Regions from separate parts of the Homo sapiens genome. Here all the other regions are linked to region 1. The links are contacts of gene promoters, found by promoter capture Hi-C in blood cells and fetal thymus (Javierre and others, 2016). All regions are on one chromosome and are shown on one strand. Each heading gives the region's core, a stretch centred on a gene start or on the middle of the fragment in contact. The rest is flanking DNA. Distances are from core to core; before and after follow the strand shown.

Region 1 (3,346 bases), core at 325-2,824:
ATACTCTATTCTTTTATATTTTCTTCTCAGTGGCAATTACCTTAACTTCAGTTTTGGGAATCTGATGTTGAGTGTAGTCTGATACTGACTACCTAAGGGAAATACTATGCTATACTTAAAAATTATTAAGACTGTAAAAACATAAGAAACGTTTAGAGTATAGAAAGGAAAAGCAAAATATATAGTTGTATGAAAATTATTTCAATTATGCAAAACTACATAAACTTCTGAACAACACTACAATATACAAAAATGAAGTTGTGATTTTTTATAAATGTTTTTAGTGCTGCATGACTTCTAACATAACGTTATGGATTACATATGCTGAGGGTCAGACTGCCTACTGTAATATTCTATTTCTCCTAGTGGTACTAAGGAATTATGTGAGCTTAAGTTCCCTCAAACAAAGTGATTGAAGGTCCATTTTCAAAAATTCTGTTTTCTCATCAGGATTCATTATGGGCGTTATTTCCCAAACACATTTAAACTTTTTCATCCTAGTTTAATGCAACGTAGGTTTTAGCATCAAATTCCAGAGGTTTATCAACTACTATATGAAGAAGTAATTCTTTTCATTCATATATATAACCTTTTAAGCTTTAGTTCCCGATTTATTACTCAGAGCTCAAGAACCTGACCTCATTGACTTTACATTGCTCTTAGGGTTTACCATTCCTCGTAGCCTTTATGCTTTTTAGAGGCTACTTTAGAAAGAGAGTCAGTTTGACAGCCTCCAAAACTAATCACATTTTCTGAAATTTCAGTTTCCTCCGTGTGTGTTCTGAGGTGTAATTACGAGCTTGGTAATTTCCAGGGCCCACCAAAGTAAGGACGGAAGACTAGTCCGAGAGACTTCACGTGTGTGAGGGTAATACTGGTCCGCACCCAAATTTGAATTTTAGCTCCCATGATTCCCACATATTGTGGGAGGGACCTAGTGGGAGATAATTGAATCAAGAAGGCTGTTTCCCCCATGCTGCTCTGGTGGTAGTGAGTACGTCTCAGGAGAGCTGATTGTTTTATATGGGGTTTCCCTTTTTCCTTGGCTCTGATTTTCCTCTCTTGCCTGCTGCCATGTAAGACGTGCCTTTCCCCTTCTGGCTTGATTGTGAGGCCTCCCCAGCCACGTGGAACTCTGAGTGCATTAAATCTTTTTATCTTTATAAATTACCCAATCTCGGGTATGTCTTTATCAGCAGCGTGAAAACGCACTAATACACTTCCCTTCTGGGGTCTCTGAGATGGGACCGAAAGATTCCCTAAGGGAGCACCCCGAAAATCCGAGAGGAGAAGAGCCAGCGAGATCTCAGAACTCGAGCTGCCTCGGGCCGCTTCGATGGGCACAGATCCGCCCCCTCGCAGCGCCCCGCCCCCCAGCGCGTTGCACGCAGGCACGTCCTCCCAGTAGTTCAGGCCCCGCCCCCTCCCCGTCGCCCCACCCCGGCCGCGACGCCCCGCCCCGCGCCTAGGCTGTTGCTGGCCGCGGCCGCCGCCCTCCCCCGGCCCAATGGCGTGGCGGCACAGTCAGTGATGTGACGCTCAGGCTTGTCCGGCCCCCGGCTCGCAGCCCATTACACCATCCGTCGCAGCAGTCGCTGCAGCCGCTGCAGTCCGAGCCGACTAAGGGCGGGAGGCAGCTCGGGTGGCGGGGCGTGGCGAACAGCGCGGCCGGATTCATTCCTTTGGGGCGCGGAGCATGGAGGAGCTGTGCGGCCGCAGGCGGAGCAGGGCGGCCCGGGCGGCGGTGGGGACAACGGTTTCCCTTTGAAGGGGACGGACAAAGCCCGAGTGACCAGCGGCGGCGGGGAGGACTAGTCCCCGGGCAGGTAGTGGCGGCGGCAGCGGCCTGCCAGGGCTCGGGCCGGGGCCTGAGGTGCCCGCGGAAGGCCTGGGCGGGAAGGAGGGCGCCGGGGGAGCCGAAGGCGGGCAGCGGGCTGGAGGCCACAGCTTGGCCCATCGGGAGGGGGTTGTGGTCGATGGAGGAGATTGGGAGGGGGCTGCCGTTGTCTGGAACAGGGAGAGGGGAAGGTTGTGTTGGGGCGACTGTGGTTTGAGGAACCTGCGGATCATCCCTTGGCGGGGGGTGGGGGGTGATCGAAATGGGGCGGGCGAAGTTAATGACTAAAAGGCAGGCGGATTTCCTGAGAGCCGTGAGTAGTTTTAAAGGAAAGAGAATCTTTCGGGGCACAGTTTTGGCCTTAGCCGGGGTTTGGTGTGTCCGACCTTTTTGTTCTTTCTCGAAACCCGGCCTCAGGCCTTCCAGCCTGGCGCCCTTGGCCAGCTCTCCTGCAGTTGCAAGAAAGAGAAACATTTCTGAACCCGAGTCTCCTGCCTCTTTCGGTTGTACTCTCCCTGGGCGTGTGCAAAGCAAAACTAGAACAAAGCTTGGCTGGTTAGAGCTGGAGGCGAGAAAACGGGCTGCCTGTAGTGTTTAAATTTTCCGCACATGGAGGAGACTGCCTGCGACCAGAACATTTGGGTCTCTGTGTATCCTTCTGTATTTTTCTTTACCACCTTTTCTTTGGGGGTGGGGGGGGTGTGTGGGATGGAGTAGTGCCTGAAGTATAGCTTTTATTCCTTTCTTCCCACAGAAGTGGAAATTAAGAAGTGTTTTGCCTTCTTCTATAGAAAATTAAATGCTGCTACTTTTTTTTTCTTTCTCTAGTTTGGTGCCCTGGTTGTCAGATGTTGGAAAGCAGTAGGACGGAACATACTCTTCGTGGTTGTGTATCCGTTCTGGGGTGCAGCAATTAACATTGGACTTTGGTTCCTGTGACTCTTGCCTGTGTCGATAGAGTTAAACTGGAGCTCTGCTTTGAAAGATAAATAAAGCACAGCCTCTCAACTGGACATAAATGGATCTAAAGACAGCAGTATTTAACGCAGCTCGGGATGGCAAACTCCGGCTTCTCACCAAATTGTTGGCAAGCAAATCCAAAGAGGAGGTTTCCTCCTTGATCTCTGAAAAAACAAATGGGGCCACGCCACTCTTGATGGCCGCCAGGTATGGGCACCTTGACATGGTGGAATTCCTCCTAGAGCAATGCAGTGCCTCCATAGAAGTTGGGGGCTCCGTCAATTTTGATGGCGAAACCATTGAGGGGGCTCCCCCTTTATGGGCCGCTTCTGCAGCAGGACATCTGAAGGTGGTCCAGTCCTTGTTAAATCATGGAGCATCTGTCAACAACACGACTTTAACCAATTCAACTCCTCTTCGAGCTGCGTGTTTCGATGGCCATTTGGAAATAGTGAAGTACCTTGTAGAACACAAAGCTGATTTGGAAGTGTCAAACCGACATGGGCATACGTGCTTGATGATTTCATGTTACAAAGGACATAAAGAGAT
Region 2 (3,547 bases), core at 537-3,036, 2.6 Mb after region 1:
TTAAAATTACTGAAACCTATTTTTTCAGAGCTCTCATACATACTGCCTGAATCTATTTTCTGATATGATCCTAAAATTATATTGACTAAATCTTAGGAGCCATAGATAGACTACCAAAATATCAGCTGAAATAAGGGCTTGAGAGCAGCAAAGAGGGTAGTGAAAAGGCATCCTGGTCCTCCAAGATCAAAGCAGCACAGTGGGTTCCAGGCCAGTCAGTATTACAGAGCCCTTGACTGGCAAGTCAACAATATGACAGACACCATCACTGGGAGCTGCCCTCTCCAATGTCCAATCTCCTCCCTCCTCTCAGTTAAAGGCCTCATTTAAAAGCCTACATGTCCTTGTCTGTCTCACGGCCATATGCTGCTAGATGTGAAACTGCATTTGGCCAAGGAGATACAAGCATAACGGTGGTCTAGAACCCTTGGGAAGTTGTTAAAAGAAAGCAGAAGCCTCTTTTCCACCCCTTCCTCTTTGTCCCTTCCTGTCGCCAGCAATCGGTAACCTGAGCAGAGTAGCAAAATAGAACTCTCTGGTCCCTGATGACCTTGGAGCCACTAAACCAGCTCTGGAGTGCCTATTTCTAGAATTCTTTTACTGAGCGAGAGAGAGAAATAAATGTCTACTTTGTTTAAGCGATGATACTGGTTTTTTTCTGTTATATGTAGACAGTAGTCCAAACTGACATAAGTAATCCTCTCCTCATGTAGAGGCAAAGGTAGTTCTCAGTTAAGGCTTGAGAGTGCACTTTTCTTTGGATAAAAACATTTTAATAGGCCCTTTTAGCATACAAAATTAAAGCTCCAAAACTATTACAGACAGAAGAGTTTGAGACAATTGAAGGTAAACAGCTCTGAAGAATGATGCGAAGCTTTATCTTCCTCTGAGCAGAGTTGAGGCACTGCAGAAAGAGGATTATGATGTTGGAAGAAGAGAGAAGAAGCAGGCAGGAAGGATTTCCTCTTTCTAGGAAAAAAAAAAAAAAAAGGCTATAGTTGAGGGCCTGCAGCCTGGGTAGGGCTCCAGGTCAGAGAATCCCCATCTGTCATCTATGATTTCAAAGATGCTCCTAGCACCAGAGGCCTAAGGAGGGTGACAGCTGGAAGAGCAGGCCCCTGCACAGATGGATCTAGGAGCCAGAATATCAACATGCTTTCATTTTAAGGGGGATTCTTTTTCCTTTTCTGAAAAGTAATTTTCTTTGCTAAAGTCCAAGTGCAGTGAGCATCTGCCTCTTTAAAAAACAAAAAACAAAAACCAAACAAACAAAAAAACTTCTCAGCATTCATTTTCTCTCTGGAAGCATAAAGCTGTTTTTCCTTCAGGAGCAACTCCTCCCCCATTCTCATTCATGTACTCTGAGTGGGTTTGATTCCTCATTTCTAACCCCTCCACCCTCACTCCAACCTCCAAGAGCACTTGTCACCATGATTATTTAAGAAATAAGCCAGGAGGCCAGGCATGATGACTCACGCCTGTAATCCTAGCACTTTAGGAGGCCAAGGCAGGTGAATCACCGAAGGTCAGGAGTTCAAGACCAGCCTGGCCAACATGGCGAAACCCCGTCTCTAACAAAAATTAGCTGGGCATGGTGGCACGTGTCTGTAATCCCAGCTACTCGGGAGGCTGAGGCTGGAGAATCACTTGAACCAGGGAGTTGGAGGTTGCGGTAAGCCGAGATCCTGCCACTGCACTCCAGCTTGGTGGCAGGGTGAGACTCTGTCTCAAGCAAACAAACAACAAAAAATTATAGTTCGAGACCAGCCTGGCCAACGTGGCAAAACCCCGTCTCTATTAAAAAAACAAACAAACATTAGCTGGGCGTGGTGGCACACACCTGTAATCCCAGCTACTCAGGAGGCTGAGGCTGGAGAATCACTTGAACCCAGGAGGCGGAGGTTGCAGTGAGCCGAGATCGTGCCATTGCACTCCAGCCTGGGCGACAGAGCAAGACTCCGTCTCAAAAAAAACAAAACAAAACAAAACAAAAAACAAATACTAAGTCTTATTCATTCTATAGAGATCACACTGCTGCACTCCAGCCTGGGTGACAGAGTGAGACTCCATTAAAAAAAAAAAAAAAAAAAGCTAGGAACCCAAGCCAAATTGCCAAAGACCCAACATGAGGATGTCTTCTTAACTGATTGGAAAAGAAATGCTTCTTCTTTCTGTTGGGCTTGCTAAAGTGCTAGGAACATAAGCCTGGGGATTCCAGTGCTTTCTCTGCTACCACTCAGGAAAGCCTGCATAAGAATGAAGCCAAAACAGAAGAAAGCAGGAGAAAGAGATGAAGAGAAGCCACTTTCTGTTTCTTTTCTATTTTCTTTTTCAAACTCCATTACTCTGAGTAATGGAGTAATTTCTTATCTTACTGTTTGAGCCCTAGAATCCAACCGAGCCTCAAACTACATATATTCCCTGGATCTTTCATTACCTTAGCCAATACATTCTCTTTTTTGTCATTGTTGTTGTTCTTTAAAACCAGTTTGAATAGAATTTTTGTCTCTTGCAACCAAGAGTCCTAACTAACACACTAAGTCTGCTCTCACTATGTTTTGGGGGAGTCAAGGGAGAGGTCTGTACCTACATTTGGAATACATGGTTATTAGGAAAGCAAAGAAGCATTAAAAAAAAGTGATGAGAGCAAAAGATGATTGGCAGGACGGTAACCTTGGAAATAGAGACAGAAGCTTAGACCCTGCTAATTTGGCACAAACAAGAATGGCCACCAACACTTAGAGAAGTTGAGAACACTCTGATTTACAATAATAAAATTGATATATCATGAGCAAAATATGCTATCTGCAGAAAACTGTCTCATGGGTCCAAGGGGGAAGAGTTGAATTAGACAGTTCGCTAACATTATTTGCATCTTTAAAAAAACAATGAGTCACCAGGGTACACAGGGAAAGCCTGAAAGAGATCTGAGCTGCAGGGTTTGGCACTGCGCCTCAAGTCCCACAGACTAAAGAAACACTGAGTAACCAACTTAACCATCTGCTTGGCAGTACTTCCATATAATGGCTCTAATAGGACCTTTAACCTTGAAAATCACTCAGCTTAGGCTTCATTTCAATTCAACACTTTTCAAGCAACCCTGAGATTACATTTTTATATCCCATGTAACTTTCTGTCAGCACGACTAAGCACCCTGCAAAAGAGATGGAAACAGTCCAGATCAAAAATATTTGAGAGACTGGAAAGTCAAACTGCACCCTGGAAGCCAAGTACAAACAGCACATGTAGATGGTCTTAAGCAGAATCAGAATTTTGGGAAGGGATGCGGAATTGGAATGGAAGTGTGGGGTAAGGAGACCACACTGTCCAAGTCAGAGACAGAGTAATAAAAGATCAGGTTGGAAATGAACAAGATTTTGGCAACTGTTCTGATTAAACTGGGAGGGTCTGCATCTGGCCTTTGCTGGCTAGTGGCCTCTGAGGGATGGATTTGGTTTAAGGACAGAGAGCCAGGTGGCCAGCAACAGGGCCAAGAAATTTCTTTTTTAAGCAAAAATCAGTATACTCTATTTTACTACTTAAAAGA
Region 3 (3,614 bases), core at 454-2,953, 2.6 Mb after region 1:
TTCTTTCTTCTTTCTTTCCTTTCTTTCTTTCTTTTCTTTCTTTTCCTTTCTGTCTGTCTGTCTTTCTTTCTTTCTGTCTTTCTTTCTTGATGGAGTTTCCCTCTTGTTGCCCAGGCTGGAGTGCAGTGGCGCAATCAGCTCACTGCAGCCTCCACCTCCCGGGTTCAAGCGATTCTCCTGCCTCAGCCTCCCAAGTAGCTGGGATTACAGGCATCTGCCACCAATTTTTTGTGTTTTTAATAGAGATGGGGTTTCACCATGTTGGCCAGGCTGGTCTTGAACTCATGACCTTAGGTGATCCATCTGCCTTGGCCTCCCAAAGTGTTGGGATTACAGACATGAGCCACTGTGCCCGGTCAGTCTTTCATTAGTCTTTCTCGTACTGTTTGTTGGTTTTCTCTCTTGCTTTAAAAGCACATATACTCTGCAGTGAAAAAGATATGTAACTTTCTGATCACGCATAGTTTCCTGCCTTCTTTTTTTCTATGAAGGAGAAAAATATTTTCCTTATTGGCATGGAAACGAACTAGTGTTTATGTCTTAAAATGTCTGATTCTTTTTTCCTTCTTATTTGAGGTACTGATAATAGGAAAACCATTTTGAATTACTAAGAATTCCTACATCATACTCTCTGATAAATACAGCCAAAAGCAATCCCATGCATGGTGGGCATGGAGGATGGTCAAGTTATGTGTCTGCCATAACAAAAAGGATTATAAACATTATGGTCCATGTTCTTCATATTCAATTTCCAAAGAACCTATCTTAACCTCTGGAATATTTGCTATTAAACATAAGTTACCACATTAGAAATAAAATATAAAGCAGATGGACCAGAAGATGATTCCTTTCTGTTCTTTACCAATAGGACATCTTAAAGCTTTTTATCCATATATATGGATAAAATTAAAATATATATGGGTATAAATGGATATATAGATATATTTTAATGAACTGCTTTTTTTTCCACACTGTCAGTCTCTGGTAAATAGTTGATATTGGTACAACTGGTTTGAATAATAAAGCCAATGCTGTGAAGACATACTATTACTTAATTTTATGTCATTTGGCTAGTTTGAATTGTAGCAACTGAGTTACTTATGAACCATGCACAGAACACATAGTATGTACCTATGTGTCTTAGGTGTGAGTAGCCAAAAGCATGTGTATATGGAGCTGATTATTACCTCTTGAGCAAACAGCTTAACTTTTATAAAATTCAGTTTTCTCATATGTAAAAGGTGGGGATAGGGTTGGGGGGAGTTGGGATAATATATGTCAAACGTTTAGGACAAATCAGGCATTCTGTAAGTGCTCAATTAAGGGGAGTTAGTTTCATTAACATATAAAGAGGAAAATTGACTTAATCATAGTCATAGTTCTTTAACTTTGTGTCATTAAGCTTTTCATTGATTTAAGGAAAAACCTTCCTAAGAGTATTTTCTTTCATTTATTTTTTCACTTTCATTTTTTGTTCCTTGTCTTATTATTTTTTTCCTGTACTTAAATCAGCTTAAGACATCATTATTCAAAGAATAAAACACAGTAAAGTTTTGTTCTTCCAAGTTAAAAATATGTGATATGGCTAGTGGTTTTCTTCTGTACTGGTACAATGGTGTATATGTTCCTAAGCATTGAGTATAAGTTGGACTAACAATTTTTTAATATTAAATCTTATGCATAAGAAATGTGAACTTGGTCCTAAAAGCAAGAACTCAAAACAGAAATATAAAAAGGTTGTACAGTTCACATATAAAAAAGCATTTGATCTATTTTGCATGGTAAGAACAAAATAGATCTGAATTAAGAACTTGTAAAAGTGGATGTTTTTCCAGATGGATTTATTGTGTCTGAAATAATTTGAAAAATAGTATGGAAGGTTGTCCCTTTCCTGTCTCCCTCCAAGTAAGCATTAGCTGTAAGTATTTTGAAATATTGATTGATAGATGAAACCTCAGCAAAAGAAGAAGAGCACATTTTGACCAATACCGAGCTTAAGCTTAGCTTAGAAAGCTTTTGGTGATGATGCACACCTTTTATGTCAGTTCAGTGAGCTGCAGCCATTTACAGTGGCCTAAAGAATAATGACCTTGAATTACCTCATGTAAGAAGTCTGGAGGTTGAAATTTCAAGGCGCTACAGCAGAAATCCATGCTCTTTTCCAGCGACTTTGGAGTATAATCTTCCTCGCCCACGCCTGTTTCCTTAATATATAACAAGATTGTTGCCATATAGCGCTAAGGCTTTCAAGAGCAGGAAGCTGGAAGACCTTTTATTTGTGCGCCTCTCATATTTTATCAGCAGAGGAAAATTTTGTCCCAAAGCCTTCTACCGTATTTCCTTTTCTGTTTCATTGGTCAGAACTGTGTCACATGGATACCCTTAACTCCAAGGGGGCTAAGAAAGTCAGTATCTAGCAAAAAGCAATGGGATTACCATGGTGGATTTGTACTAACTTTGATTTATCCCCTAGGCCTGGGGCAGGAGCCTAGCTTCCCTGAGTCAAGACAGATTTGCCAGGTACATGTATATAAAATCAGGGCTCTGTGGGTGAGTAGGAAGGACTGGCTAATTGATAGGCAAGGAACAGTGTCTGCTATTTCCTTGAGCAATGATAGTGACCGGTTGCTGTAATAGGATTTTTGAAGCAGCAGTGTTACCATGACAATCTGATCATGCTGGTGACCATCATTCAGCAGTGAATAGTTAACTGCCAGGCAGTGTACAATGGAGAGATTGAGCTGCAGATATAAATTTGGAAGTTATTAGCATATATATGGTATCTAGATTTATGGGGACAGATACTCTCTCCAGATCAAAACAACCAAAATGGCATGATGGTAATAAAATAGTTTTAAAAATCTGGTATTATAGAATGCCTAGGTGGTAAGTGAAGTTTTTTTTTCTCTTTTTTGTTTTTAAATGGATTTTATTTTTTAGAGCAATTTTAGGTTCACAGTGAAATTGAGCAGAAGATACAAAGATTTCCCATGTACCCACTACGCCTACACATACACAGCCTCCTCTACCATCAGCATCACCTACAAGAGGGGTATGTTTTTGTCTTTGTTTTTTTTTGAGATGGAGTCCTGCTCTGTCGCCCAGGCTGGAGTGCAGTGGCACGATCTCAGCTCACTGCAGCTCCACCTCCCGGGTTCAAGTAATTCTCCTGCTTCAGCCTCCCGAGTAGCTGGGACTACAGGTGCACACCACTATGCCTGGCTAATTTTTGTATTTTTAGTAGAGACGGGGTATCACCATGTTGGCCAGTCTGGCCTTGAACTCCTGACCTCAAGTGATCCACCCTCCTTGGCCTCCCAAAATGCTGCGATTACAGGCGTGAGCCATTGTGCCTGGTCAGAGTGCTGTTTTTTATAATTGGTGAACATACATTGACACATCATTGTCACCTAAAGTCCTTAGAGAATGTACAGCTTACTTGTGTCATGGGTCAGGGAATATCTTAGGTTTTCTGAAAGATGACACTTAATTTGGGAAGGAGATTCCAGCCCAGAATCATCTCTGCTCAACCTTGTTTTCTTCACATGTTAATGCTATTCTTTGGCCATCCTTGGTTCTTGCCTTTGCTTTCAGAAAATAGCAGCCAAGGTGTG
Region 4 (3,629 bases), core at 588-3,087, 2.6 Mb after region 1:
TCCCAGTAACCATTAGAGACAGATTCAAGTCCACTGGTTTTTAGAGTCATTTTTTAAAATTAAAAATAGTACCACCCAGTTTGATCACTTGCTTAATCACTATCATAGTAAATAATTCTTGGCTGTTTCCAAGTTTCAAATAAGCATAAGAATACTCTTCTCCAATTACAAGAGGCCCTTCTCAACAAAGGAATTTAAAAATTAGCCAGATATGGTGGCATGCATCTGTAGTCCTAGCTGCTTGGGAGGCTAAGGCAGGAGGATCACTTGAGCCGAGGTGTTCAAGGCTGCAGTGGGCTATGATCATGTCACTACATTCCAGCCTGGGTGACGAGACACTGTCTCAAATATATATATATATATATATATTTTTTTTTTTTTTTTTTAATTAAGAAATAAAAACAACACTGCAACACTGGAGTAGCAAAAGGCATTTTAATCAGGTTTTTAGAGATTGCAATTTGGGAGACACAAGTCTAGCAAGCAGCTAAATCATGTTGCATTCAGGCAAGGTTAGGCAGAGCTTTTAAGGGCTACTGTAAATTTACGTATCTGGAAGGTTTTAGCACAGTCCATGATAAATGATGGCTGGTTGTCAGCTCAGGATGTCTCTAGTCAATGATCAATATAGTTGGGTATGGTTATCTCTCCAGGCGGTTGATCAGGCCCAGTATATACAACTCAAGTCAAATGCAGCTAGTTTTACACTTTGGCCCAGTTCAGCAGGTGAAACTCCATCTAGATGTGTATGTGACCAGGATCCAACTCCTTATGCCCTCCTGGCTCCTTTTTGGATATTCTGACATAATCATCTCCATTGTGAATTTTCTTTTCAGATCCATCAGTTTCATTTTGGATTTTTTTTCCCCACAATTCAGATTCATCAGTTTCATCTTTAAGACTTCTAGTCTTCTGATCTGTTCTAGTCTGGATCAGCTGTCCTCTACACCTGGTACACATCTGTCAACTCTACACTGCCCTTTCACAAGCATCCTATAGTTCCCTGTGCCTTTATCCCACAGAGGTCATGTGTCTTGTCTTTTTGTTTTCATCCTCCTTAATTCACTTCCTTGTTTTCATGAAGTAATCCTCACATATCCTGTGAAGGAAGGATGCAAAGGGGAGGTAAATACTATATTTTAAGATACTACACATCTAAAATGTCTTTATCCTCATACTTGATAATTTGGGTAAAGAATTCTAAGTTGGAAATGATTTTCTTTCAGAATCTTCAAAAGTGTTCTTAATTCCAACTTGCAATTTTGATATTGAGAAGATCGAAGCCATTCAGATTTTTTTTCTTTTTACTTCTAATTTGTGCCAAGGACAAAAGCCATTCAGATTCTTAATGTTTTGTATATGACCTTTTTTTTTCCCCAGTCTGGATGCTTCTAATATCTTCCTTCCATCCCCAGTGTTGTGAAATTTTGCAGTGTCTATTTTTGATCCACTACACTGTCATTCCATAGACTATACATACTTGGAAACTCATATCCTTCAGTGCTGAAAGGTCTCGTAAGTCAATCCTACTGTGAGTCTTTATGTTTCTATACTGCCTTGCCAGGCATGGTAGTACATGCCTGAAATTCCAGCTACTAAAGCCAAGGAGTTCAAATTCAGCCTGGTCAACAATGTGAGACCCCGTCTCTATTTTTTTAAAAAAATACCCCCCATATCAATTACATTAATTTTGCTTTTCATTTTTCCCAGTTCTCCTCAGCCCGCTCTGTTGAAATGCTGAAATTTTAACTGTCAGAGGCAACCGTAATATTGCCTTAGGGACTTGTGGGGAAGGGGAGGGGAATTATTCAGCGTAGTGTTTTAACTTTCAGAACCAAGTAGTCTATTTTCTCTATGTAAGAAATGTGTTTGTCTTACTTGAAGAGAAACCCAGACTTCATCAGTTTTTGATAACATCTTGGTTTCTGAAGGAACTTCAATCTGTAATTGGCATTCAGAATGCCCTTGGCATGGCAGTCTGTGTGATGGCATTTAAGACCTGTGAAATCCTTGAGCCCAACTTGATTAATCAACACTGATAACCACCACCTTTATCCTTTAAAGTCTGCTTTATCTGTATTTTAAAAAATGAAAAACCCTCAAGTGTAAGAGCCAGCTCCCTATCTACTCACATAAAGGAGAAGCGTATTAATGAATAAACCTCCCAAATGTCTCATCATTAATATAAAAAGGCATCCAAAAATCACCTACCATCTAAGGAAAATGTGAAGCATGACAAGAAAGTTTTTTAACTGACGCTGAAGAAAACATAATTGAGGAACCAGAAGAAAACAGGAGTGAGGGTTGAAAGATGGAATTATTATCCTAAAAGAAATTTAAAAGAGTATTCCTTTTTCAGAGCAACTGTATTTTTCTTTAAATGTACAGTAACTAAGTAAGAGCCCTCGGGGGGAAAAAAAACTATTATTACTATAACCAACGGAAGCAGTGGAAGGTAGTATTAAGGATATCACCTAGACACTGGTACTCAAAATGTGGACGCTAGACCATGTGGGAACTAAGTGTGAAAACAGAAACAGGTATTTTACACATTAAAGGACTCAGTTTACTTCCTAATGAACCCCCTCAAAGAAATTAACTTAAAATGCGCACAAGCAAAACAAGAATGAAAACCAAGAAAGGATGAAACATGATATTCAAGAAAGAGTAAGTACCATCTCAGAGAGTTGTGAAAGTGAATTCTAGTATTCTAGTTGCTAGGCAAGTCTGAGGAGCAACGAGTCCAGACTGGATTAGGAGGATGGAGGTCCCCAAGAGTGCAGTCTAAAGGGAAAAAAGGATTCTGTCGAAAGTATGATTGAGGATAAGATAAGGAAGCGGATGAGAAGGGTTGAAAAAAGCAGCTAGAAACTTTGGACATATTAGAGAGGAGTACATGTACAACAGAATCATAGTCCAAATGTGAAGCAAAAACACCAAAGTTAGAACAGAAAGCCAACTGTCCCCTCCCCTCAAAAAAATGGATTTCAAGAATAGCCAGAAGGGGCCTGGCATGGTGGCTCCCGCCTGTAATCCCAGCACTTTGGGAGGCCATGGCAGGCGGATCACCTGAGGTCAGGAGTTCAAGACCAGCCTGGCTAACACATGGTGAAACCCCGTCTCCACTAAAAATATAAAAAATGGTGTGGTGGAGGGTGCCTGTAATCCCAGCTACTCGGGAGGATGAGGCAGGAGAATCGCTTGAACCCAGGAGACACGGGTTGCAGTGAGCTGAGACCACATCATTGCCTCCAGCCTGGGCAAACGAGCAAGACTCCGTCTCAAAAACAAACAAACAAAAAGGCTAGAAGGAATCAAGCAATAGTAACAAAAGCATATATTTCTTTCCCCAAAGAAAAAACTAAATGGTACCATCATTTTGACCAATTTGTAGGATATAAGAACGGAGAATTCATTCAGATATTCTGCAAGACACTTACAAAGGGCTCCTGACTATGCCCCGATGGAAAAGAAACTAGCCGCTGAAGACTTGCCTCTACTGTAAAAACTACATATCTATTTACACTGTATCATTATTGTTCAGCTTTTACAATCAACAAATAGCACAAAATATAACAGACGTAGATTTACAAAATAGAATATAAATATTATCAACCCTAATTTTTTTC
Region 5 (3,620 bases), core at 239-2,738, 2.6 Mb after region 1:
TACTTTTTGTAGAGATGGGGTTTTGTCATGTTGCCCAGGCTGGTCTCCAACTCCTGAACTCTAGTAATCCGATCACCTCAGGCTTCCAAAGTGCTAGGATTACAGGTACGAGTCACCACGCCTGACTTAAATTATTCTATCATTAAAAAGTTTTCATTTTTACCCCAAATGAAGCTTTTCATCTTAAATTTTATTCGTGACTCATGCCTGTAATCCCAGCGCTTTGGGAGGCTGAATTGGGGGGATCACTTGAGGTCATGAGTTTGAGACCAGCCTGGCCAACATGGCAAAAACCCATCTCTACTAAAAATACAAAAATTAGCCAGGTGTGATGGCGGGTGCCTGTAATCCCAACTACTTTGGAGGCTGAGGCATGAGAATCGCTTTAGCCTGGGAGGCAGACGTTGCAGTGAGCCGAGATCGTGCCACTGCACTCCAGCCTGGGTGACAGAGCGAGACTCTGTCTCAAAAAAAAATAATAATAATAATAATTCTATTCATTTGCTGTTAATTCCATTATGTTATTAGCATTTCTGCGTACTCTTTTTTTTATTAGTATTTGATTGTTATATTTTTCTTTACTTTTATCTTGAAATTTCTGGATGGTTTTAAGTGGGCTCCTTGAACTATTTACACTATTGTTTGCTTGCTTGTTAATCAAATGAGATGATTTTTATCTATTAGTAAATGAATTCTATCTAATAAACTTATATAGTCAGTCATCCTGGTATATTTAAATTTATTTTTACCATCTAATTTAGGTCTTTGCTTTACTACCCTTTTTCTTTTTTTCTTTTTCTCTTTTTATTCCTGTTGCTTCTTTGGGACTGATGAAATTTTCTATATTCTTCTTTCCTTCTTTGTTGGTTTTAAGGCTATGCATAGCATTTCTATTTTTTTTAACATGAATATCTCTACATTTTTCCTATAAAGTCTCCAATTACATACACAGTGTTTTTTCCTTCTCCTGAACAAGACACAAACCTAAACAAGCTTTAATTACCTAGTAAGTACTTCCACATTATTGTTTTTATTTTTAATTTATTTTTTTGAGGTGGAGTTTCACTCTTGTCGCCCAGGCTGGAGTGCAATGGCGCAATCTCAGCTCACTGCAACCTCCACCTCCCGGTTCAAGCAATTCTCCTGCCTCAGCCTCCTGAGTATCTGGAATTACAGGCATATGCCATCACGCCCAGCTAATTTATATATTTTTAGTAGAGACGGGGTTTTGCCATGTCTGCCAGACTAGTCTCGAACTCCTGGCCTCAGATGATCTGCCCGCCTTGGCCTCCCTAAGTGCTGCGATTACAGGCGTGAGCCACTGCACCTGGCCCCCATATTATTTTTAACCCTCAAATTATTTTTTATATTGATAGTTAATTGTACTTACCAACTTATCAATTTCTATGCTTTTCATGTTTGCTTACATCTAATTTTTTCTTCCTGGGTTTACTGTTCTTCTAACTGAAGTATGTCTTTTTAGTAGATCTTTCACTGTAGGTCTGTGGTTAGTAAGTTCTCTTATTTGTATATATTTGTTTTATATATTGTACACCTAAAGATGCACTTTCATTAAGCATTTATTCTGTCTTTTCTATACAAAGTAAGCAAGTAGAAGTAGAGAAGTTTTCAATTTCTGATGAATTAATGGATCAGTGGTTGCCAACATCACACAGAGAGAGACAATCAGTTATTACATATTTTCTACAAGTCACCTACAAAGGAGTCTAGCCTGAAAATTGTACCTGAATCTGATCAAGGCCATAATCTCACTACCAATTTATAGAAAATACAGAAAACAGACAAGTGTAAATTACATGGGAATGCAATCAGCAAAATACAGATGTGGGAAACTCTACAAGTCAGATAAAACAACCCAGTTTCTTTCAGAAGTAAGTTGAAAAAGGTGGGGCAAAGGGGATTGAAGGGGTAGGTAAAAGAGACTTAAAAGATGTATATAGTTAGAAGGAAAATTAAGCTTCAGAGTTTAGAGGTGCATCATGGGCGACAGAACTATAAAGAAAGCAAGAAAGCAATGAACATAAAACTCAAGATGTAGTTACTTTCAGGGGAAAAGGAAAGGATTGGGATTGGGACAGGGTAAATGAAGGACCTCTCCTGTGGCTGCAGAGTGGACCCCATTGGGATACAGCAGAGAATGAGACCAAGGCCCAGCTCTCAGGGTGTTTACACAATAGGAGAAATAAACCAATAAATGAATAATGCAATGTCAATTAGTGATAATGGAATATAAAACATAGTTGACCCCTAGCCTCCAAATAAGTGCCAGCCGAGTTTCATTCTTAACACAGAGTACATAGAAAATATAATTACTTGATAAGGTCAATAAGAAATCAGCTTTCACAATATATTATGGCCAATTAAGAGGAAAAAGTAAAGAGAAAAGAAAAGAAATGAAGAGAGAAAAAGAAATAGGGGCATAAAAAGCAAGTCCAAACATAGAAGAGAAAGACACCCACAAAGGCATAAAAACACCCACATCCATAGGGCCAGAACTTTATGGGTAAAATATTTTATTATAGCTACAAATTCATCACTCTATATAGATATAGGGGCAGGTTGTCTTGGAGCTCTCATCTTCAGTTATTTAGTCAAGGTCTAGAGACTGTGCCAGACTTGATCATTCCAGCCCCAACACTTCCCTAGGTTTGTTCCCTATTTAGGTGGTGGCACATTATAAGTACATTTCAGACTTTTTCTGAAAGCAGATATTATAAAGAAAATGAGTGTGGGAGTAGAAGAGTATTCATCCTCAGAGGAAAAAGGACACTGAAGGGGCTGTAGAGGTGCCCAAGTAAATGCTCCAGTTTAGCCACAACTCAATCTACACACCATGAAGGCCCTTTTTCTTGCAGCCCTGCAGACTAACAAAATGGATGGTAGAGAATGCTGACTGTGCATAGAAGGCTTTCTCCCCGTGTTCACCTTGGAAGGGTCATTTATAGCTCAGTTCCTTGGATTCAAAAAGGAAATCAATCTTACCACCTATGGCAATAACAAAAATGGCAACAAAATGATTGCGGTTTTTAATTCCTTCCTGTTGTGGTAGCTTTCATTTGTCCTGTTATTGCTGGATTTATTAGAAATAACTATCCAAGTCAATAAACCAGAAAAATGCAAGCTCCATCTCATCTAGACATCCTAAATGTAGTCACAATTCACTTTAAATATGTATAGTTTATGTAGTTCACATTTTCATTTACAACAATATAGAATATTAAAATTAACTTGCAGACTATGAGATGGCAGGAGGTCATAAGGGTAATAACCATTTATCAGTGAGATCTCAACCAAATTCTGGCTTACAGGTTTTCCAGTAGAGTTGTGGTTATTTTTTCCCTTTGTAATGAAAACAGATTTGATTATGGTTGTAAAAGTAGTATTAAAAAGTAATATATATTCATTATTTTCAAAAGTTAAACAACAGGAATATATTAATATATATCAAAAACATAAAAGTTGGCCAGGTGTGGTGGTTCATGCCTGTAATCCCAGCACTTTGGGAGGCCGAGGCAGGAAGATCATTTGAGCTCAGGAGTTCAAGACCAGCCTGGGCAACATGGTGAAACCCCATCTCTACAAAAAATACAAAAATTAGC
Region 6 (3,897 bases), core at 182-2,681, 2.8 Mb after region 1:
ACAGTAGAATAAAAGGAAATTACAGACCAATATTTCTCATAAACTTAGACACAGAAATCCTCAACGAAACATTGTTTTTTCTTGGAATCCATGGGGAATTGGTTTCAAGCTCCTGAGAATACCAAATTCCACAGATACTTGTTTCTTATATAAAATGGCACAGTATTTGCATATAATCCAGGCATATCCTCTGTATATGTTAAATCACCTCTAGATGACTTTATAGACATGCTCTGCTTAACGACAGGAATACATTCTGAGAAATGCGTTTGGTGATTTTGTTATTGTGCAAACATCATAGCATGTACTTACACAAGCCTAGATGGTATAGCCTAGGACACACATAGGATATATGATCTAGCTTATTGCTCCTAGGCTACATACTTATACAACAGGTTACTGCACTGAATACCGTAGGTAATGGTAACACAATGGTAGGTGTGTGTATATTTAAACATAGAAAAGTTACAGCAAAAATATAGAATGATAATTTTAGGAAATCATCGTTGTATATGTGGTCTGTTATTGACTAAAATATTGTTATGCACTTCATGATTGTAATACCTAATACAGGATAGATGCTATGTAACTTGTTGTTATACTATATTGGTTTTTATTTTTATTATTTTCATTGTTATATTGTTATTTTTATTGTTCTTTTTCTAAATATTTGTGATCTGCAGTTGGTTGAATTTATGGATGCAGAACCCACAGATATGGAGGATTTTGAGTGTACTAGAAAATCAAACCCAATAATATATTTAAAAAAAATATGACATGGCAAGTAGGATTTCTCCCAGGTATGCATGGCTAGTTCAATATTCGAAAATCAATGTGATCTACATTATCTACATACAACAGGCTACAGAAGAAAATTCATGTGTAATCACATCATTTGATACAGAAAAAGCATTTGACAAAATGCAACACCCTTTCATGATAAAACCTGGGTCTGTTCCCTGCCCAATAACTGCATAAAAGGGAATAAATTTGTGACTATTGAGAATGAAGAATGTTCCATCAGCTGATGAGAGATTTGGCAAGTGTCTAGAAGACAAGAAATGATGGATGAACCAAGGTGGAAGACATGCTCCAATCCAGAACATAAACTGCCTTATGGAGAGGCCCACCTGACGTGGAATTGAGGGAGGCCTCTGCCCAAAAGCTAGTGAAGAACTGAGGTTCTTAGTCCAACAGTTCATGAGGAACTCCCTGCCATCAATCATGTGAGAGAGCTTGGAAGTGACTCTCCCAGTCAAGGCTGCAGATGATAGCACAGACTTGGCTGAAAGCTTTATGAGAGACCTTGAAGCACGGGTACCTAGGTAAACCATGCTCAAATTCCTGACCAATAGAAACTGTGAAAAAAAAATACTTCTTGTTATAAGCTGCTAAATCTTGGTATAATTTGGAAGGCAGACATGAGAAGGTATGAATTCCATTTCCAGCAGTAATTGAATTGGTCATAGAGCAAGTTTGAAAATCTTTATGACACCAATTATACATGTTTCTTCTTTTTTTGTTTCTCTTGTGCCTGTATCAACATTTCACTCATGATACACTAAGCTTCCCTTCTTTTAAGCTCCACCTATTTCTTAAAACTTTCCAATTAAAGTGGCTGAATGCAATAATCAGCCAGAGACTCTGTGCTTTTCTGTCTAATGACAAAAAAAAAAAAAAAAGGAAAACTCTCCATCTGGGTAGAAATTGATAATTAGCCATATCCAATTCCTGGACATCTGGCTTTTAAATGAAACTGAGCATAGCAATGTCTCCTCCCTCGGCATTATTTTACTGAAAGTGCTACGTATTCTTCTAGTACTTAAAGGGACAGCACCAATGTAACTTGAATATCAAGTTACTAAAGATTTGTCTCAATTGTTTTTCATACTACCAAAATCTTAGCTGTTTATCATAGAAAATTTGGAAACTCCAGAAAATCTCAAGAAGAAAGAAAAAAATCTCACCATTCAAGATAAGAATTGTCACCATTTTGGTGGTGCTCTTTCCAGGTTTACTTTAAAATGAAAGGCATTTCAGAATAACAATATTGCCCTCTACAATAAATCCTCATTTTATAAAAGCATATTTTAATGAATAAAATTTAACAAAGAAAACCAAATCATTTATTTCACTGAAATTCACATCAATATCTTGACACAGTTTATGGTTTGGCTGATGACATTGATAATCCGCCCTAACAACCAGTCTGAGTAGCTCAGGGGAACATCCCACAAGACCAAAGCAGCCCCAGCAGCACGTTGAGAGCGGTGGGGCTCAAGAGAAACAACATATGTTTGCATCCGCTCTCCCTTCATGCTGCTACAGCTCCCCCGTCATTTGGGGTTGGGGAGGGATCCAGAGACTTGCACCAAGATCTTTAGTAGACTGGAACCAGCTTAAAGAACTGAGAGAAAGTCAGTTTAGAGATTTTATGAGTTGGCAATTACACACAGCTATTATTAAAAATTAAATAATATAAAATTGCAATTCAATAAATTATATTGAAAACAAAGGTAATAAGCACTCAAAACTCATCACTTTCAAATCATTTTCTCACATTTAACCATTTCCTATGCTCCTGATGCCATTCCATCTCTTGTATCTAAATGGTGGAAAAACTGTATAATGTTCTAGGGCACATCTACTCAAAACACTAAGTTCAATGATGTCACATTGGTAGTTTGAAATTGGCCAGAGCGAGAGCATTTACACCAGGGAACTCAAGAAATGCTCAAAATCTGGGCTTGACTTATTGTTTTGTTGATAGTCTAGTGATGGAGAAAATGTTAATGCTGTACATTAAAGTTAAAAGCGTGTCACGTCTATTGCTCTTACTTTGCGAATAGCACACAGATTGAGGAAATATTATTCCGGTATTTAAAAACCATTATCAAATTCTTCCAAGTCGCTCACATTATAGACAAATAAATAAAGTTCTAACATATATCTTTGTTGTTTCATTTTCATCTTACTCATTAATGACTAAGAAAATATCAGCCAGGATTCTTGTCAAAACTACACTTGTTTGTTATTTATAATGATAGGTTGGCTACAGATACAAAAGTTCAGCAAAAATCAATGAAACAATCATGGGCAAAAATCAGGAGAATTATTGGCTATATGAAAGTCACATTAAAGAACATTTTCTGTTTTGCTAATATTTATACACTATGTGCTATATACTCTTTTTTCTCTATTTTTTCTTTTTGTTTGTTTTTTTTTTTTTGAGATGGAATCTTGCTCTGTTGCCCAGGCTGGAGTGCAATGGCATGATCTCGGGTCATTGCAACCTCTGCCTGCGGGTGCAAGCAATTCTCCTGTCTCAGCCTCCTGAGTAGCTGGGATTACAGGCGTGTGCCACCATGCCCAGTTAATTTTTGTATTTTTTTTTTTTTATTAGAGATGGGGTTTTGCCATGTTGCCTTGGCTGGTCTTGAACTCCTGACTTCAAGTGATCTACCTGCCTCAGCCTCTCAAATTGCTGGGAATTATAGGCGTGAGCCACTGCACCCAGCCTGTGCTATATACTCTTCATATCAGTAAAATTTAAAAGAAACTTTAGTTTGTGTGTGTGTGTGTTTGTGTGTGTGTGTGTTTGTGTGTGTGTGTGGGTGTTTCAGAGAGCTGGTTACTAATCATTTACCAGTGTACTACTGATTAGAAGCAAATGCTTCCTTTTGCCCTACTCGACTTAGCCCCCAGCTAATCCCTTTCAGCAAGGTTTCAGCTGATGAATAAATAGGAAAAGTAAGTGAAAGAAAAATAAGGGCTGCAGGAAATAGAAGAGGGAGGAAGAATATAAAAGAAAGACAGGAAGGAAAAGAAAGATAAATTTCTCCCTGACTTGCCTGTGTACATCTTTCTTTCTCTTTATCTTTTACCATCAGCCAGCAG
Region 7 (3,808 bases), core at 1,104-3,603, 2.7 Mb after region 1:
GGCCAAGGTGGGCGGATCACCTGAGGTCGAGAGTTCGAGACCAGCCTGACCAAGATGGAGAAACTCCATCTCTACTAAAAATACAAAATTAGCCGGGTCTGGTGGCTCATGCCTGAAATCCCAGCTACTCAGACGGCTGAGGCAGGAGAATCACTTGAACCCGGGAGGCGGAGGTTGCGGTGAGCCAAGATCACGCCATTGCACTGCAGCCTGGGCAACAAGAGCAAAACTCTGTCTCAGAAAAAAAAAAAAAAAGAAAAAAGACTGCAGTGTGCCATAATCGTGCCACTGCACTCAACCTCGATGACAGAGTGAGACCTTGTCTTTAAAAATAAAAGTTCAAACATGCAGGCTGGGCATGGTGGCAAACGCCTGTAATCTCAGCATTTTGGGATCTCCCCAAGATGGGAAGATTGCTTGAGTTTGAGACTAGCCTGGGCAACACAGTGAGACCCTTGTCTCTCTATTTTAAAAAAATCAGGCCGGGGGCAGTGGCTTATGCCTGTAATCCCAGCACTTTGGGAGGCCGAGGTGGGTGGATCACGAGGTCAAGAGATCGAGACCATTCTGGCCAACATGGCGAAACCCCATCTCTATCAAAAATACAAAAGTTAGCTGGGTGTGATGGCACATGCCTGTAGTCCCAGCTACTTGGGAGGCTGAGACAGGAGAATCGCTTGAACCAGGGAGTCGGAGGTTGCAGTGAGCTGAGATCGCGCCACTGTACTCCAGCCAGAGCGAGACTCCATCTCAAAAAAAAAAAAAATCAAACAAGCTGTCAGTTCGTCTGACGATTTCATTATTTTTAAGTAAATTTAATGACAGTTTAATTAAACTGAGGGGGTTATTAAACTGAAAGAAAAAATTAATAGCTCTGTTTTAAAAAATTAAAATTTTCAGAGATGAAAATTCAGAAAAATAAACAACATGCAAACAAAAACTTATCTTCCTAATATTCAGAACATTCTGTTATATTGATGTCGTTTTGCTATTGTTTTTCATAAAATAAAACACTAGAGATGATGCAACAGTCTTCTATGACCATCAACCCGTGTCTCTACTCTCTACCCCGCTCACCATTAGGTGACTACTCTCTTAAGAATGAGTGTTTCCTTACAGAGCATTTCAAAAAAATGCCAATAAGCAACATTACATATGCATCTATCAATAAATAGTAATATTTTGTATTTAAATTTACCTAAGTGGTACCACACTATGTATATCTCTTGCTTTTTTCAGTCAATATTGCTTTTCAGATTTATTAATGATAGAATCATTAGATATTATAGATATTAACAGACCTCAAGGACCTCTAGGATCTGAAATGGCAATTAACATCCAACGATTTAATAATTTTATATTCTTAACCTGGGAGCAATGACAGACTTCCAGAGGTTTATAAAATGTTCACACAACAATTTTTTTGAAAAATGTTTAGTGGGTCTCATTACATTTTCAAAGAGGTCATTCACCTCAAAGAAATTAGAACTACTGCTTCTCTCCATGAGCAGTAGTCCTGTCTTTAAATTAATCTTCAGAATGCAAATTCTGACTTTTACCTTTCAGTTTTAGAACCTTTTTTGTGTTGTGTAGGAGAAACCTATCCCTGAGCCCCACTGATTCATTTAAACAAGCTTACGTGATGGGAACTGTACAAGGCAGAGGCTCCCATCTTCCTGTTTGAGCTGGACCCGGACTCTGCCTCTGTATTGGACATCACGATTCCATTCTCTAGAGTACATTTTATTTTTCTAACATAAACGAAACAAAAGAAAAACAGGACTTAAGAAAGTTATTACATCAATTAGATGAGTATGGAAAATAGTGAAGAACCACGTCATACCTCAAGAAATACGTTAAGTCCAACTGCTGAACATACATCTTGAATCTCTGTAGCTGTAGGATTTTCAACAGCCTGAACAGTTAAAAACATAAACACTAAATATATGTGCTTTAAGTGGACACTGCCATAGTGTTGGGTAAATAATTTCAAATACTATAATCAAACAAGTACCAAAACCCTAGGTTTCCTTTTTCATTAAGTACAGATGCTTCTATTGTAATTTTAAAAATTCCTAGGAATAACACTAATGCGTAACTGTGTGCCCATCTCCCCTCCAACAGAACATAAACTTCTGAGGGCAGGGGCTTTGTTTTGTTAACCAGTGTATTCCCCAGCACCTAGCATGGTACTCTCAACATAGTAGGTGCTCAATGATTATTGACTGCTTAAACAATTACACATACAAACACTTTAGAAAACTGCTAGTATCTACTAAAGCTGAATATATGCATTCTCTATGGCCCTGCAATTCCATTCCCAGATGCGTTCTACAAAAAAGCAAAAATATGTTCTCTAAAAAACATCTATTTATAATAGCCTCAAACTATTAATAGAAATAATCCAATTTTCCATCCAGAGTAGAAAGGGCCAGGTGTGGTGGCTCACACCTGTAATCCCAGCAGATCACTTCAGCTCAGGAGTTTGAGACAAGCCTGGACAACATGGAGAAATCTCATTGCTACAAAAAAATACCAAAGTAGCCGGACATGGTGGCATGTGCCTGTAGTCCCAGCTACTCAGAAGGCTGAGGTTGGAGGATGGCTTGAGTCCAGGAGGTGGAGCCTGCAGTGCGCTGAGACTACACTGCCGCACTCCAGCCTGGGTGACAGAGCCAGACCCTGTCTCTTAAAAAAACAAACAAAAAAGAAGGTAGAAAAGACTTTGGCATACTCACACCATGCGATACTATAGAGGAGACAGGGCAGTAGTTTTGAGCAGGGAAATTCTGTCCTCAGCCTCCCTACCCCTACCCACACACAAAAGACATCTAGCAATGCTTGGAGACATTTTTGATTGTCACAACTAGGGGATGGGGGGCTGGAGGGGGCTGACCTGTCATCTAGTGGGTAGAGGCCAGGGATACTGCTGAACATCTTAAAATGCACAGAACAACCCCCAACAACAATTATCTAGCTCAAATCGGCAATGGTGCTGCTATTGACAAACCCTGTTATAGAGCAATGAAAATTCAACTACATTCAAATATGTAGGTAAATCTCAAAAGCTTAAAGTTCAGTGAAAAAAAGATACAAAATTACATAGTGTGTAATTCCATTTACAGAAAACTGAAAAAGCAGCAAAAGTAATCTATGGTGTTGAAGTCATAACGGTGGTCATCCTGGTATTTTTGAGCATATGCGGAGGCGACAGTGACTGAGAGGGAACATAAAGCAATCTTCCTGGATGCTTGTAGTGTTTTCTTTTTTGAGTGCTTGTTACCACCCAGATGTACTCATCATGGGAGAATTCACTGCATCAAACCTAGGTGTCTTAAATCTGTCATATTACAAAATACAAATGACACTTTAATAAAACTCAACAGGGCTGAACTTTCTGCATGTCTTCTTCACACACTTAAAAAAATCTCAACTACATTCTGAACATTATTAATGTATCGTACAATGTCATAATTTTGATTTCCTATATCAAGGGAAACACCGTCATAACCTTTGTTTTAAAAACATGTGAACTCTACACTCTGCCCCCACTCCTTTACAAACAAAGGCTCATTAAGAGACGTTAAAAAAATATCCCTTCAGCTATGAATTAATGCCTTTCTGGTTTCACCAACACTGAGGAACGCACCCCAATTCTTGGCTGTGTTCTCAAGCCCTAAATAAATGCAGTGAAGAGAACCCCCTGCGGCTCTAACAAGATTACGTGGCCCGACCAGGATGACACCCCCCATTCCCTCGAGGATCAAGGTGCCAGCCATCTTGCTTACCTTACTTATGGGGATTCGCC

The links. The method cuts DNA at HindIII sites, captures the fragments that hold promoters and counts their contacts. A CHiCAGO score of 5 or more calls a contact.
Region 2: a fragment that was not itself captured here is called in contact with the fragment with the promoter of FEM1C in region 1 in 3 of 17 cell types (M2 macrophages, non-activated CD4 T cells and activated CD4 T cells); the score reaches 7.3 in M2 macrophages.
Region 3: a contact is called between a fragment that was not itself captured here and the fragment with the promoter of FEM1C in region 1, in 1 of 17 cell types (non-activated CD4 T cells). The highest score is 5.0, in non-activated CD4 T cells.
Region 4: a contact is called between a fragment that was not itself captured here and the fragment with the promoter of FEM1C in region 1, in 10 of 17 cell types (activated CD4 T cells, non-activated CD4 T cells, naive CD4 T cells and 7 more). The highest score is 14.9, in activated CD4 T cells.
Region 5: a contact is called between a fragment that was not itself captured here and the fragment with the promoter of FEM1C in region 1, in 2 of 17 cell types (M2 macrophages and naive CD8 T cells). The highest score is 9.5, in M2 macrophages.
Region 6: a contact is called between a fragment that was not itself captured here and the fragment with the promoter of FEM1C in region 1, in 1 of 17 cell types (non-activated CD4 T cells). The highest score is 7.2, in non-activated CD4 T cells.
Region 7: a fragment that was not itself captured here is called in contact with the fragment with the promoter of FEM1C in region 1 in 5 of 17 cell types (non-activated CD4 T cells, naive CD4 T cells, total CD4 T cells and 2 more); the score reaches 10.8 in non-activated CD4 T cells.

What each region holds. Positions count from the first base shown.
Region 1 is chr5:115,543,003-115,546,348 of GRCh38, reverse strand. It overlaps FEM1C (fem-1 homolog C), which reads left to right and starts at 1,574. Exons shown (of 3, transcript NM_020177.3): 1 at 1,574-1,826; 2 at 2,666-3,346. The coding sequence starts at 2,856. RefSeq lists silencers at 1,284-1,623, 1,724-1,773, 1,824-1,993 and enhancers at 1,423-1,717, 1,259-2,025. The HindIII fragment of the contact is 1,787 bases long and covers 600-2,386 here.
Region 2 is chr5:112,958,023-112,961,569 of GRCh38, reverse strand. No RefSeq gene overlaps it. Among named protein-coding and RNA genes, the nearest start is that of DCP2, 17 kb to the left of the region's middle. RefSeq lists an enhancer at 1,284-1,578. The HindIII fragment of the contact is 1,819 bases long and covers 877-2,695 here.
Region 3 is chr5:112,909,766-112,913,379 of GRCh38, reverse strand. All of the region lies in intron 2 of REEP5 (receptor accessory protein 5), which reads left to right. Among named protein-coding and RNA genes, the nearest start is that of REEP5, 11 kb to the left of the region's middle. The HindIII fragment of the contact is 597 bases long and covers 1,405-2,001 here.
Region 4 is chr5:112,981,444-112,985,072 of GRCh38, reverse strand. The region is part of intron 1 of DCP2 (decapping mRNA 2); the gene reads right to left. Among named protein-coding and RNA genes, the nearest start is that of DCP2, 6.5 kb to the right of the region's middle. RefSeq lists an enhancer at 3,096-3,629. The HindIII fragment of the contact is 7,597 bases long and covers 1-3,629 here.
Region 5 is chr5:112,940,168-112,943,787 of GRCh38, reverse strand. No RefSeq gene overlaps it. Among named protein-coding and RNA genes, the nearest start is that of REEP5, 20 kb to the right of the region's middle. The HindIII fragment of the contact is 985 bases long and covers 996-1,980 here.
Region 6 is chr5:112,695,351-112,699,247 of GRCh38, reverse strand. No RefSeq gene overlaps it. Among named protein-coding and RNA genes, the nearest start is that of APC, 41 kb to the left of the region's middle. The HindIII fragment of the contact is 274 bases long and covers 1,295-1,568 here.
Region 7 is chr5:112,862,564-112,866,371 of GRCh38, reverse strand. SRP19 (signal recognition particle 19) reads right to left here. Exons shown (of 5, transcript NM_003135.3): 2 at 3,789-3,808; 3 at 1,844-1,915; 4 at 1,640-1,751. Among named protein-coding and RNA genes, the nearest start is that of SRP19, 3.2 kb to the right of the region's middle. The HindIII fragment of the contact is 1,434 bases long and covers 1,637-3,070 here.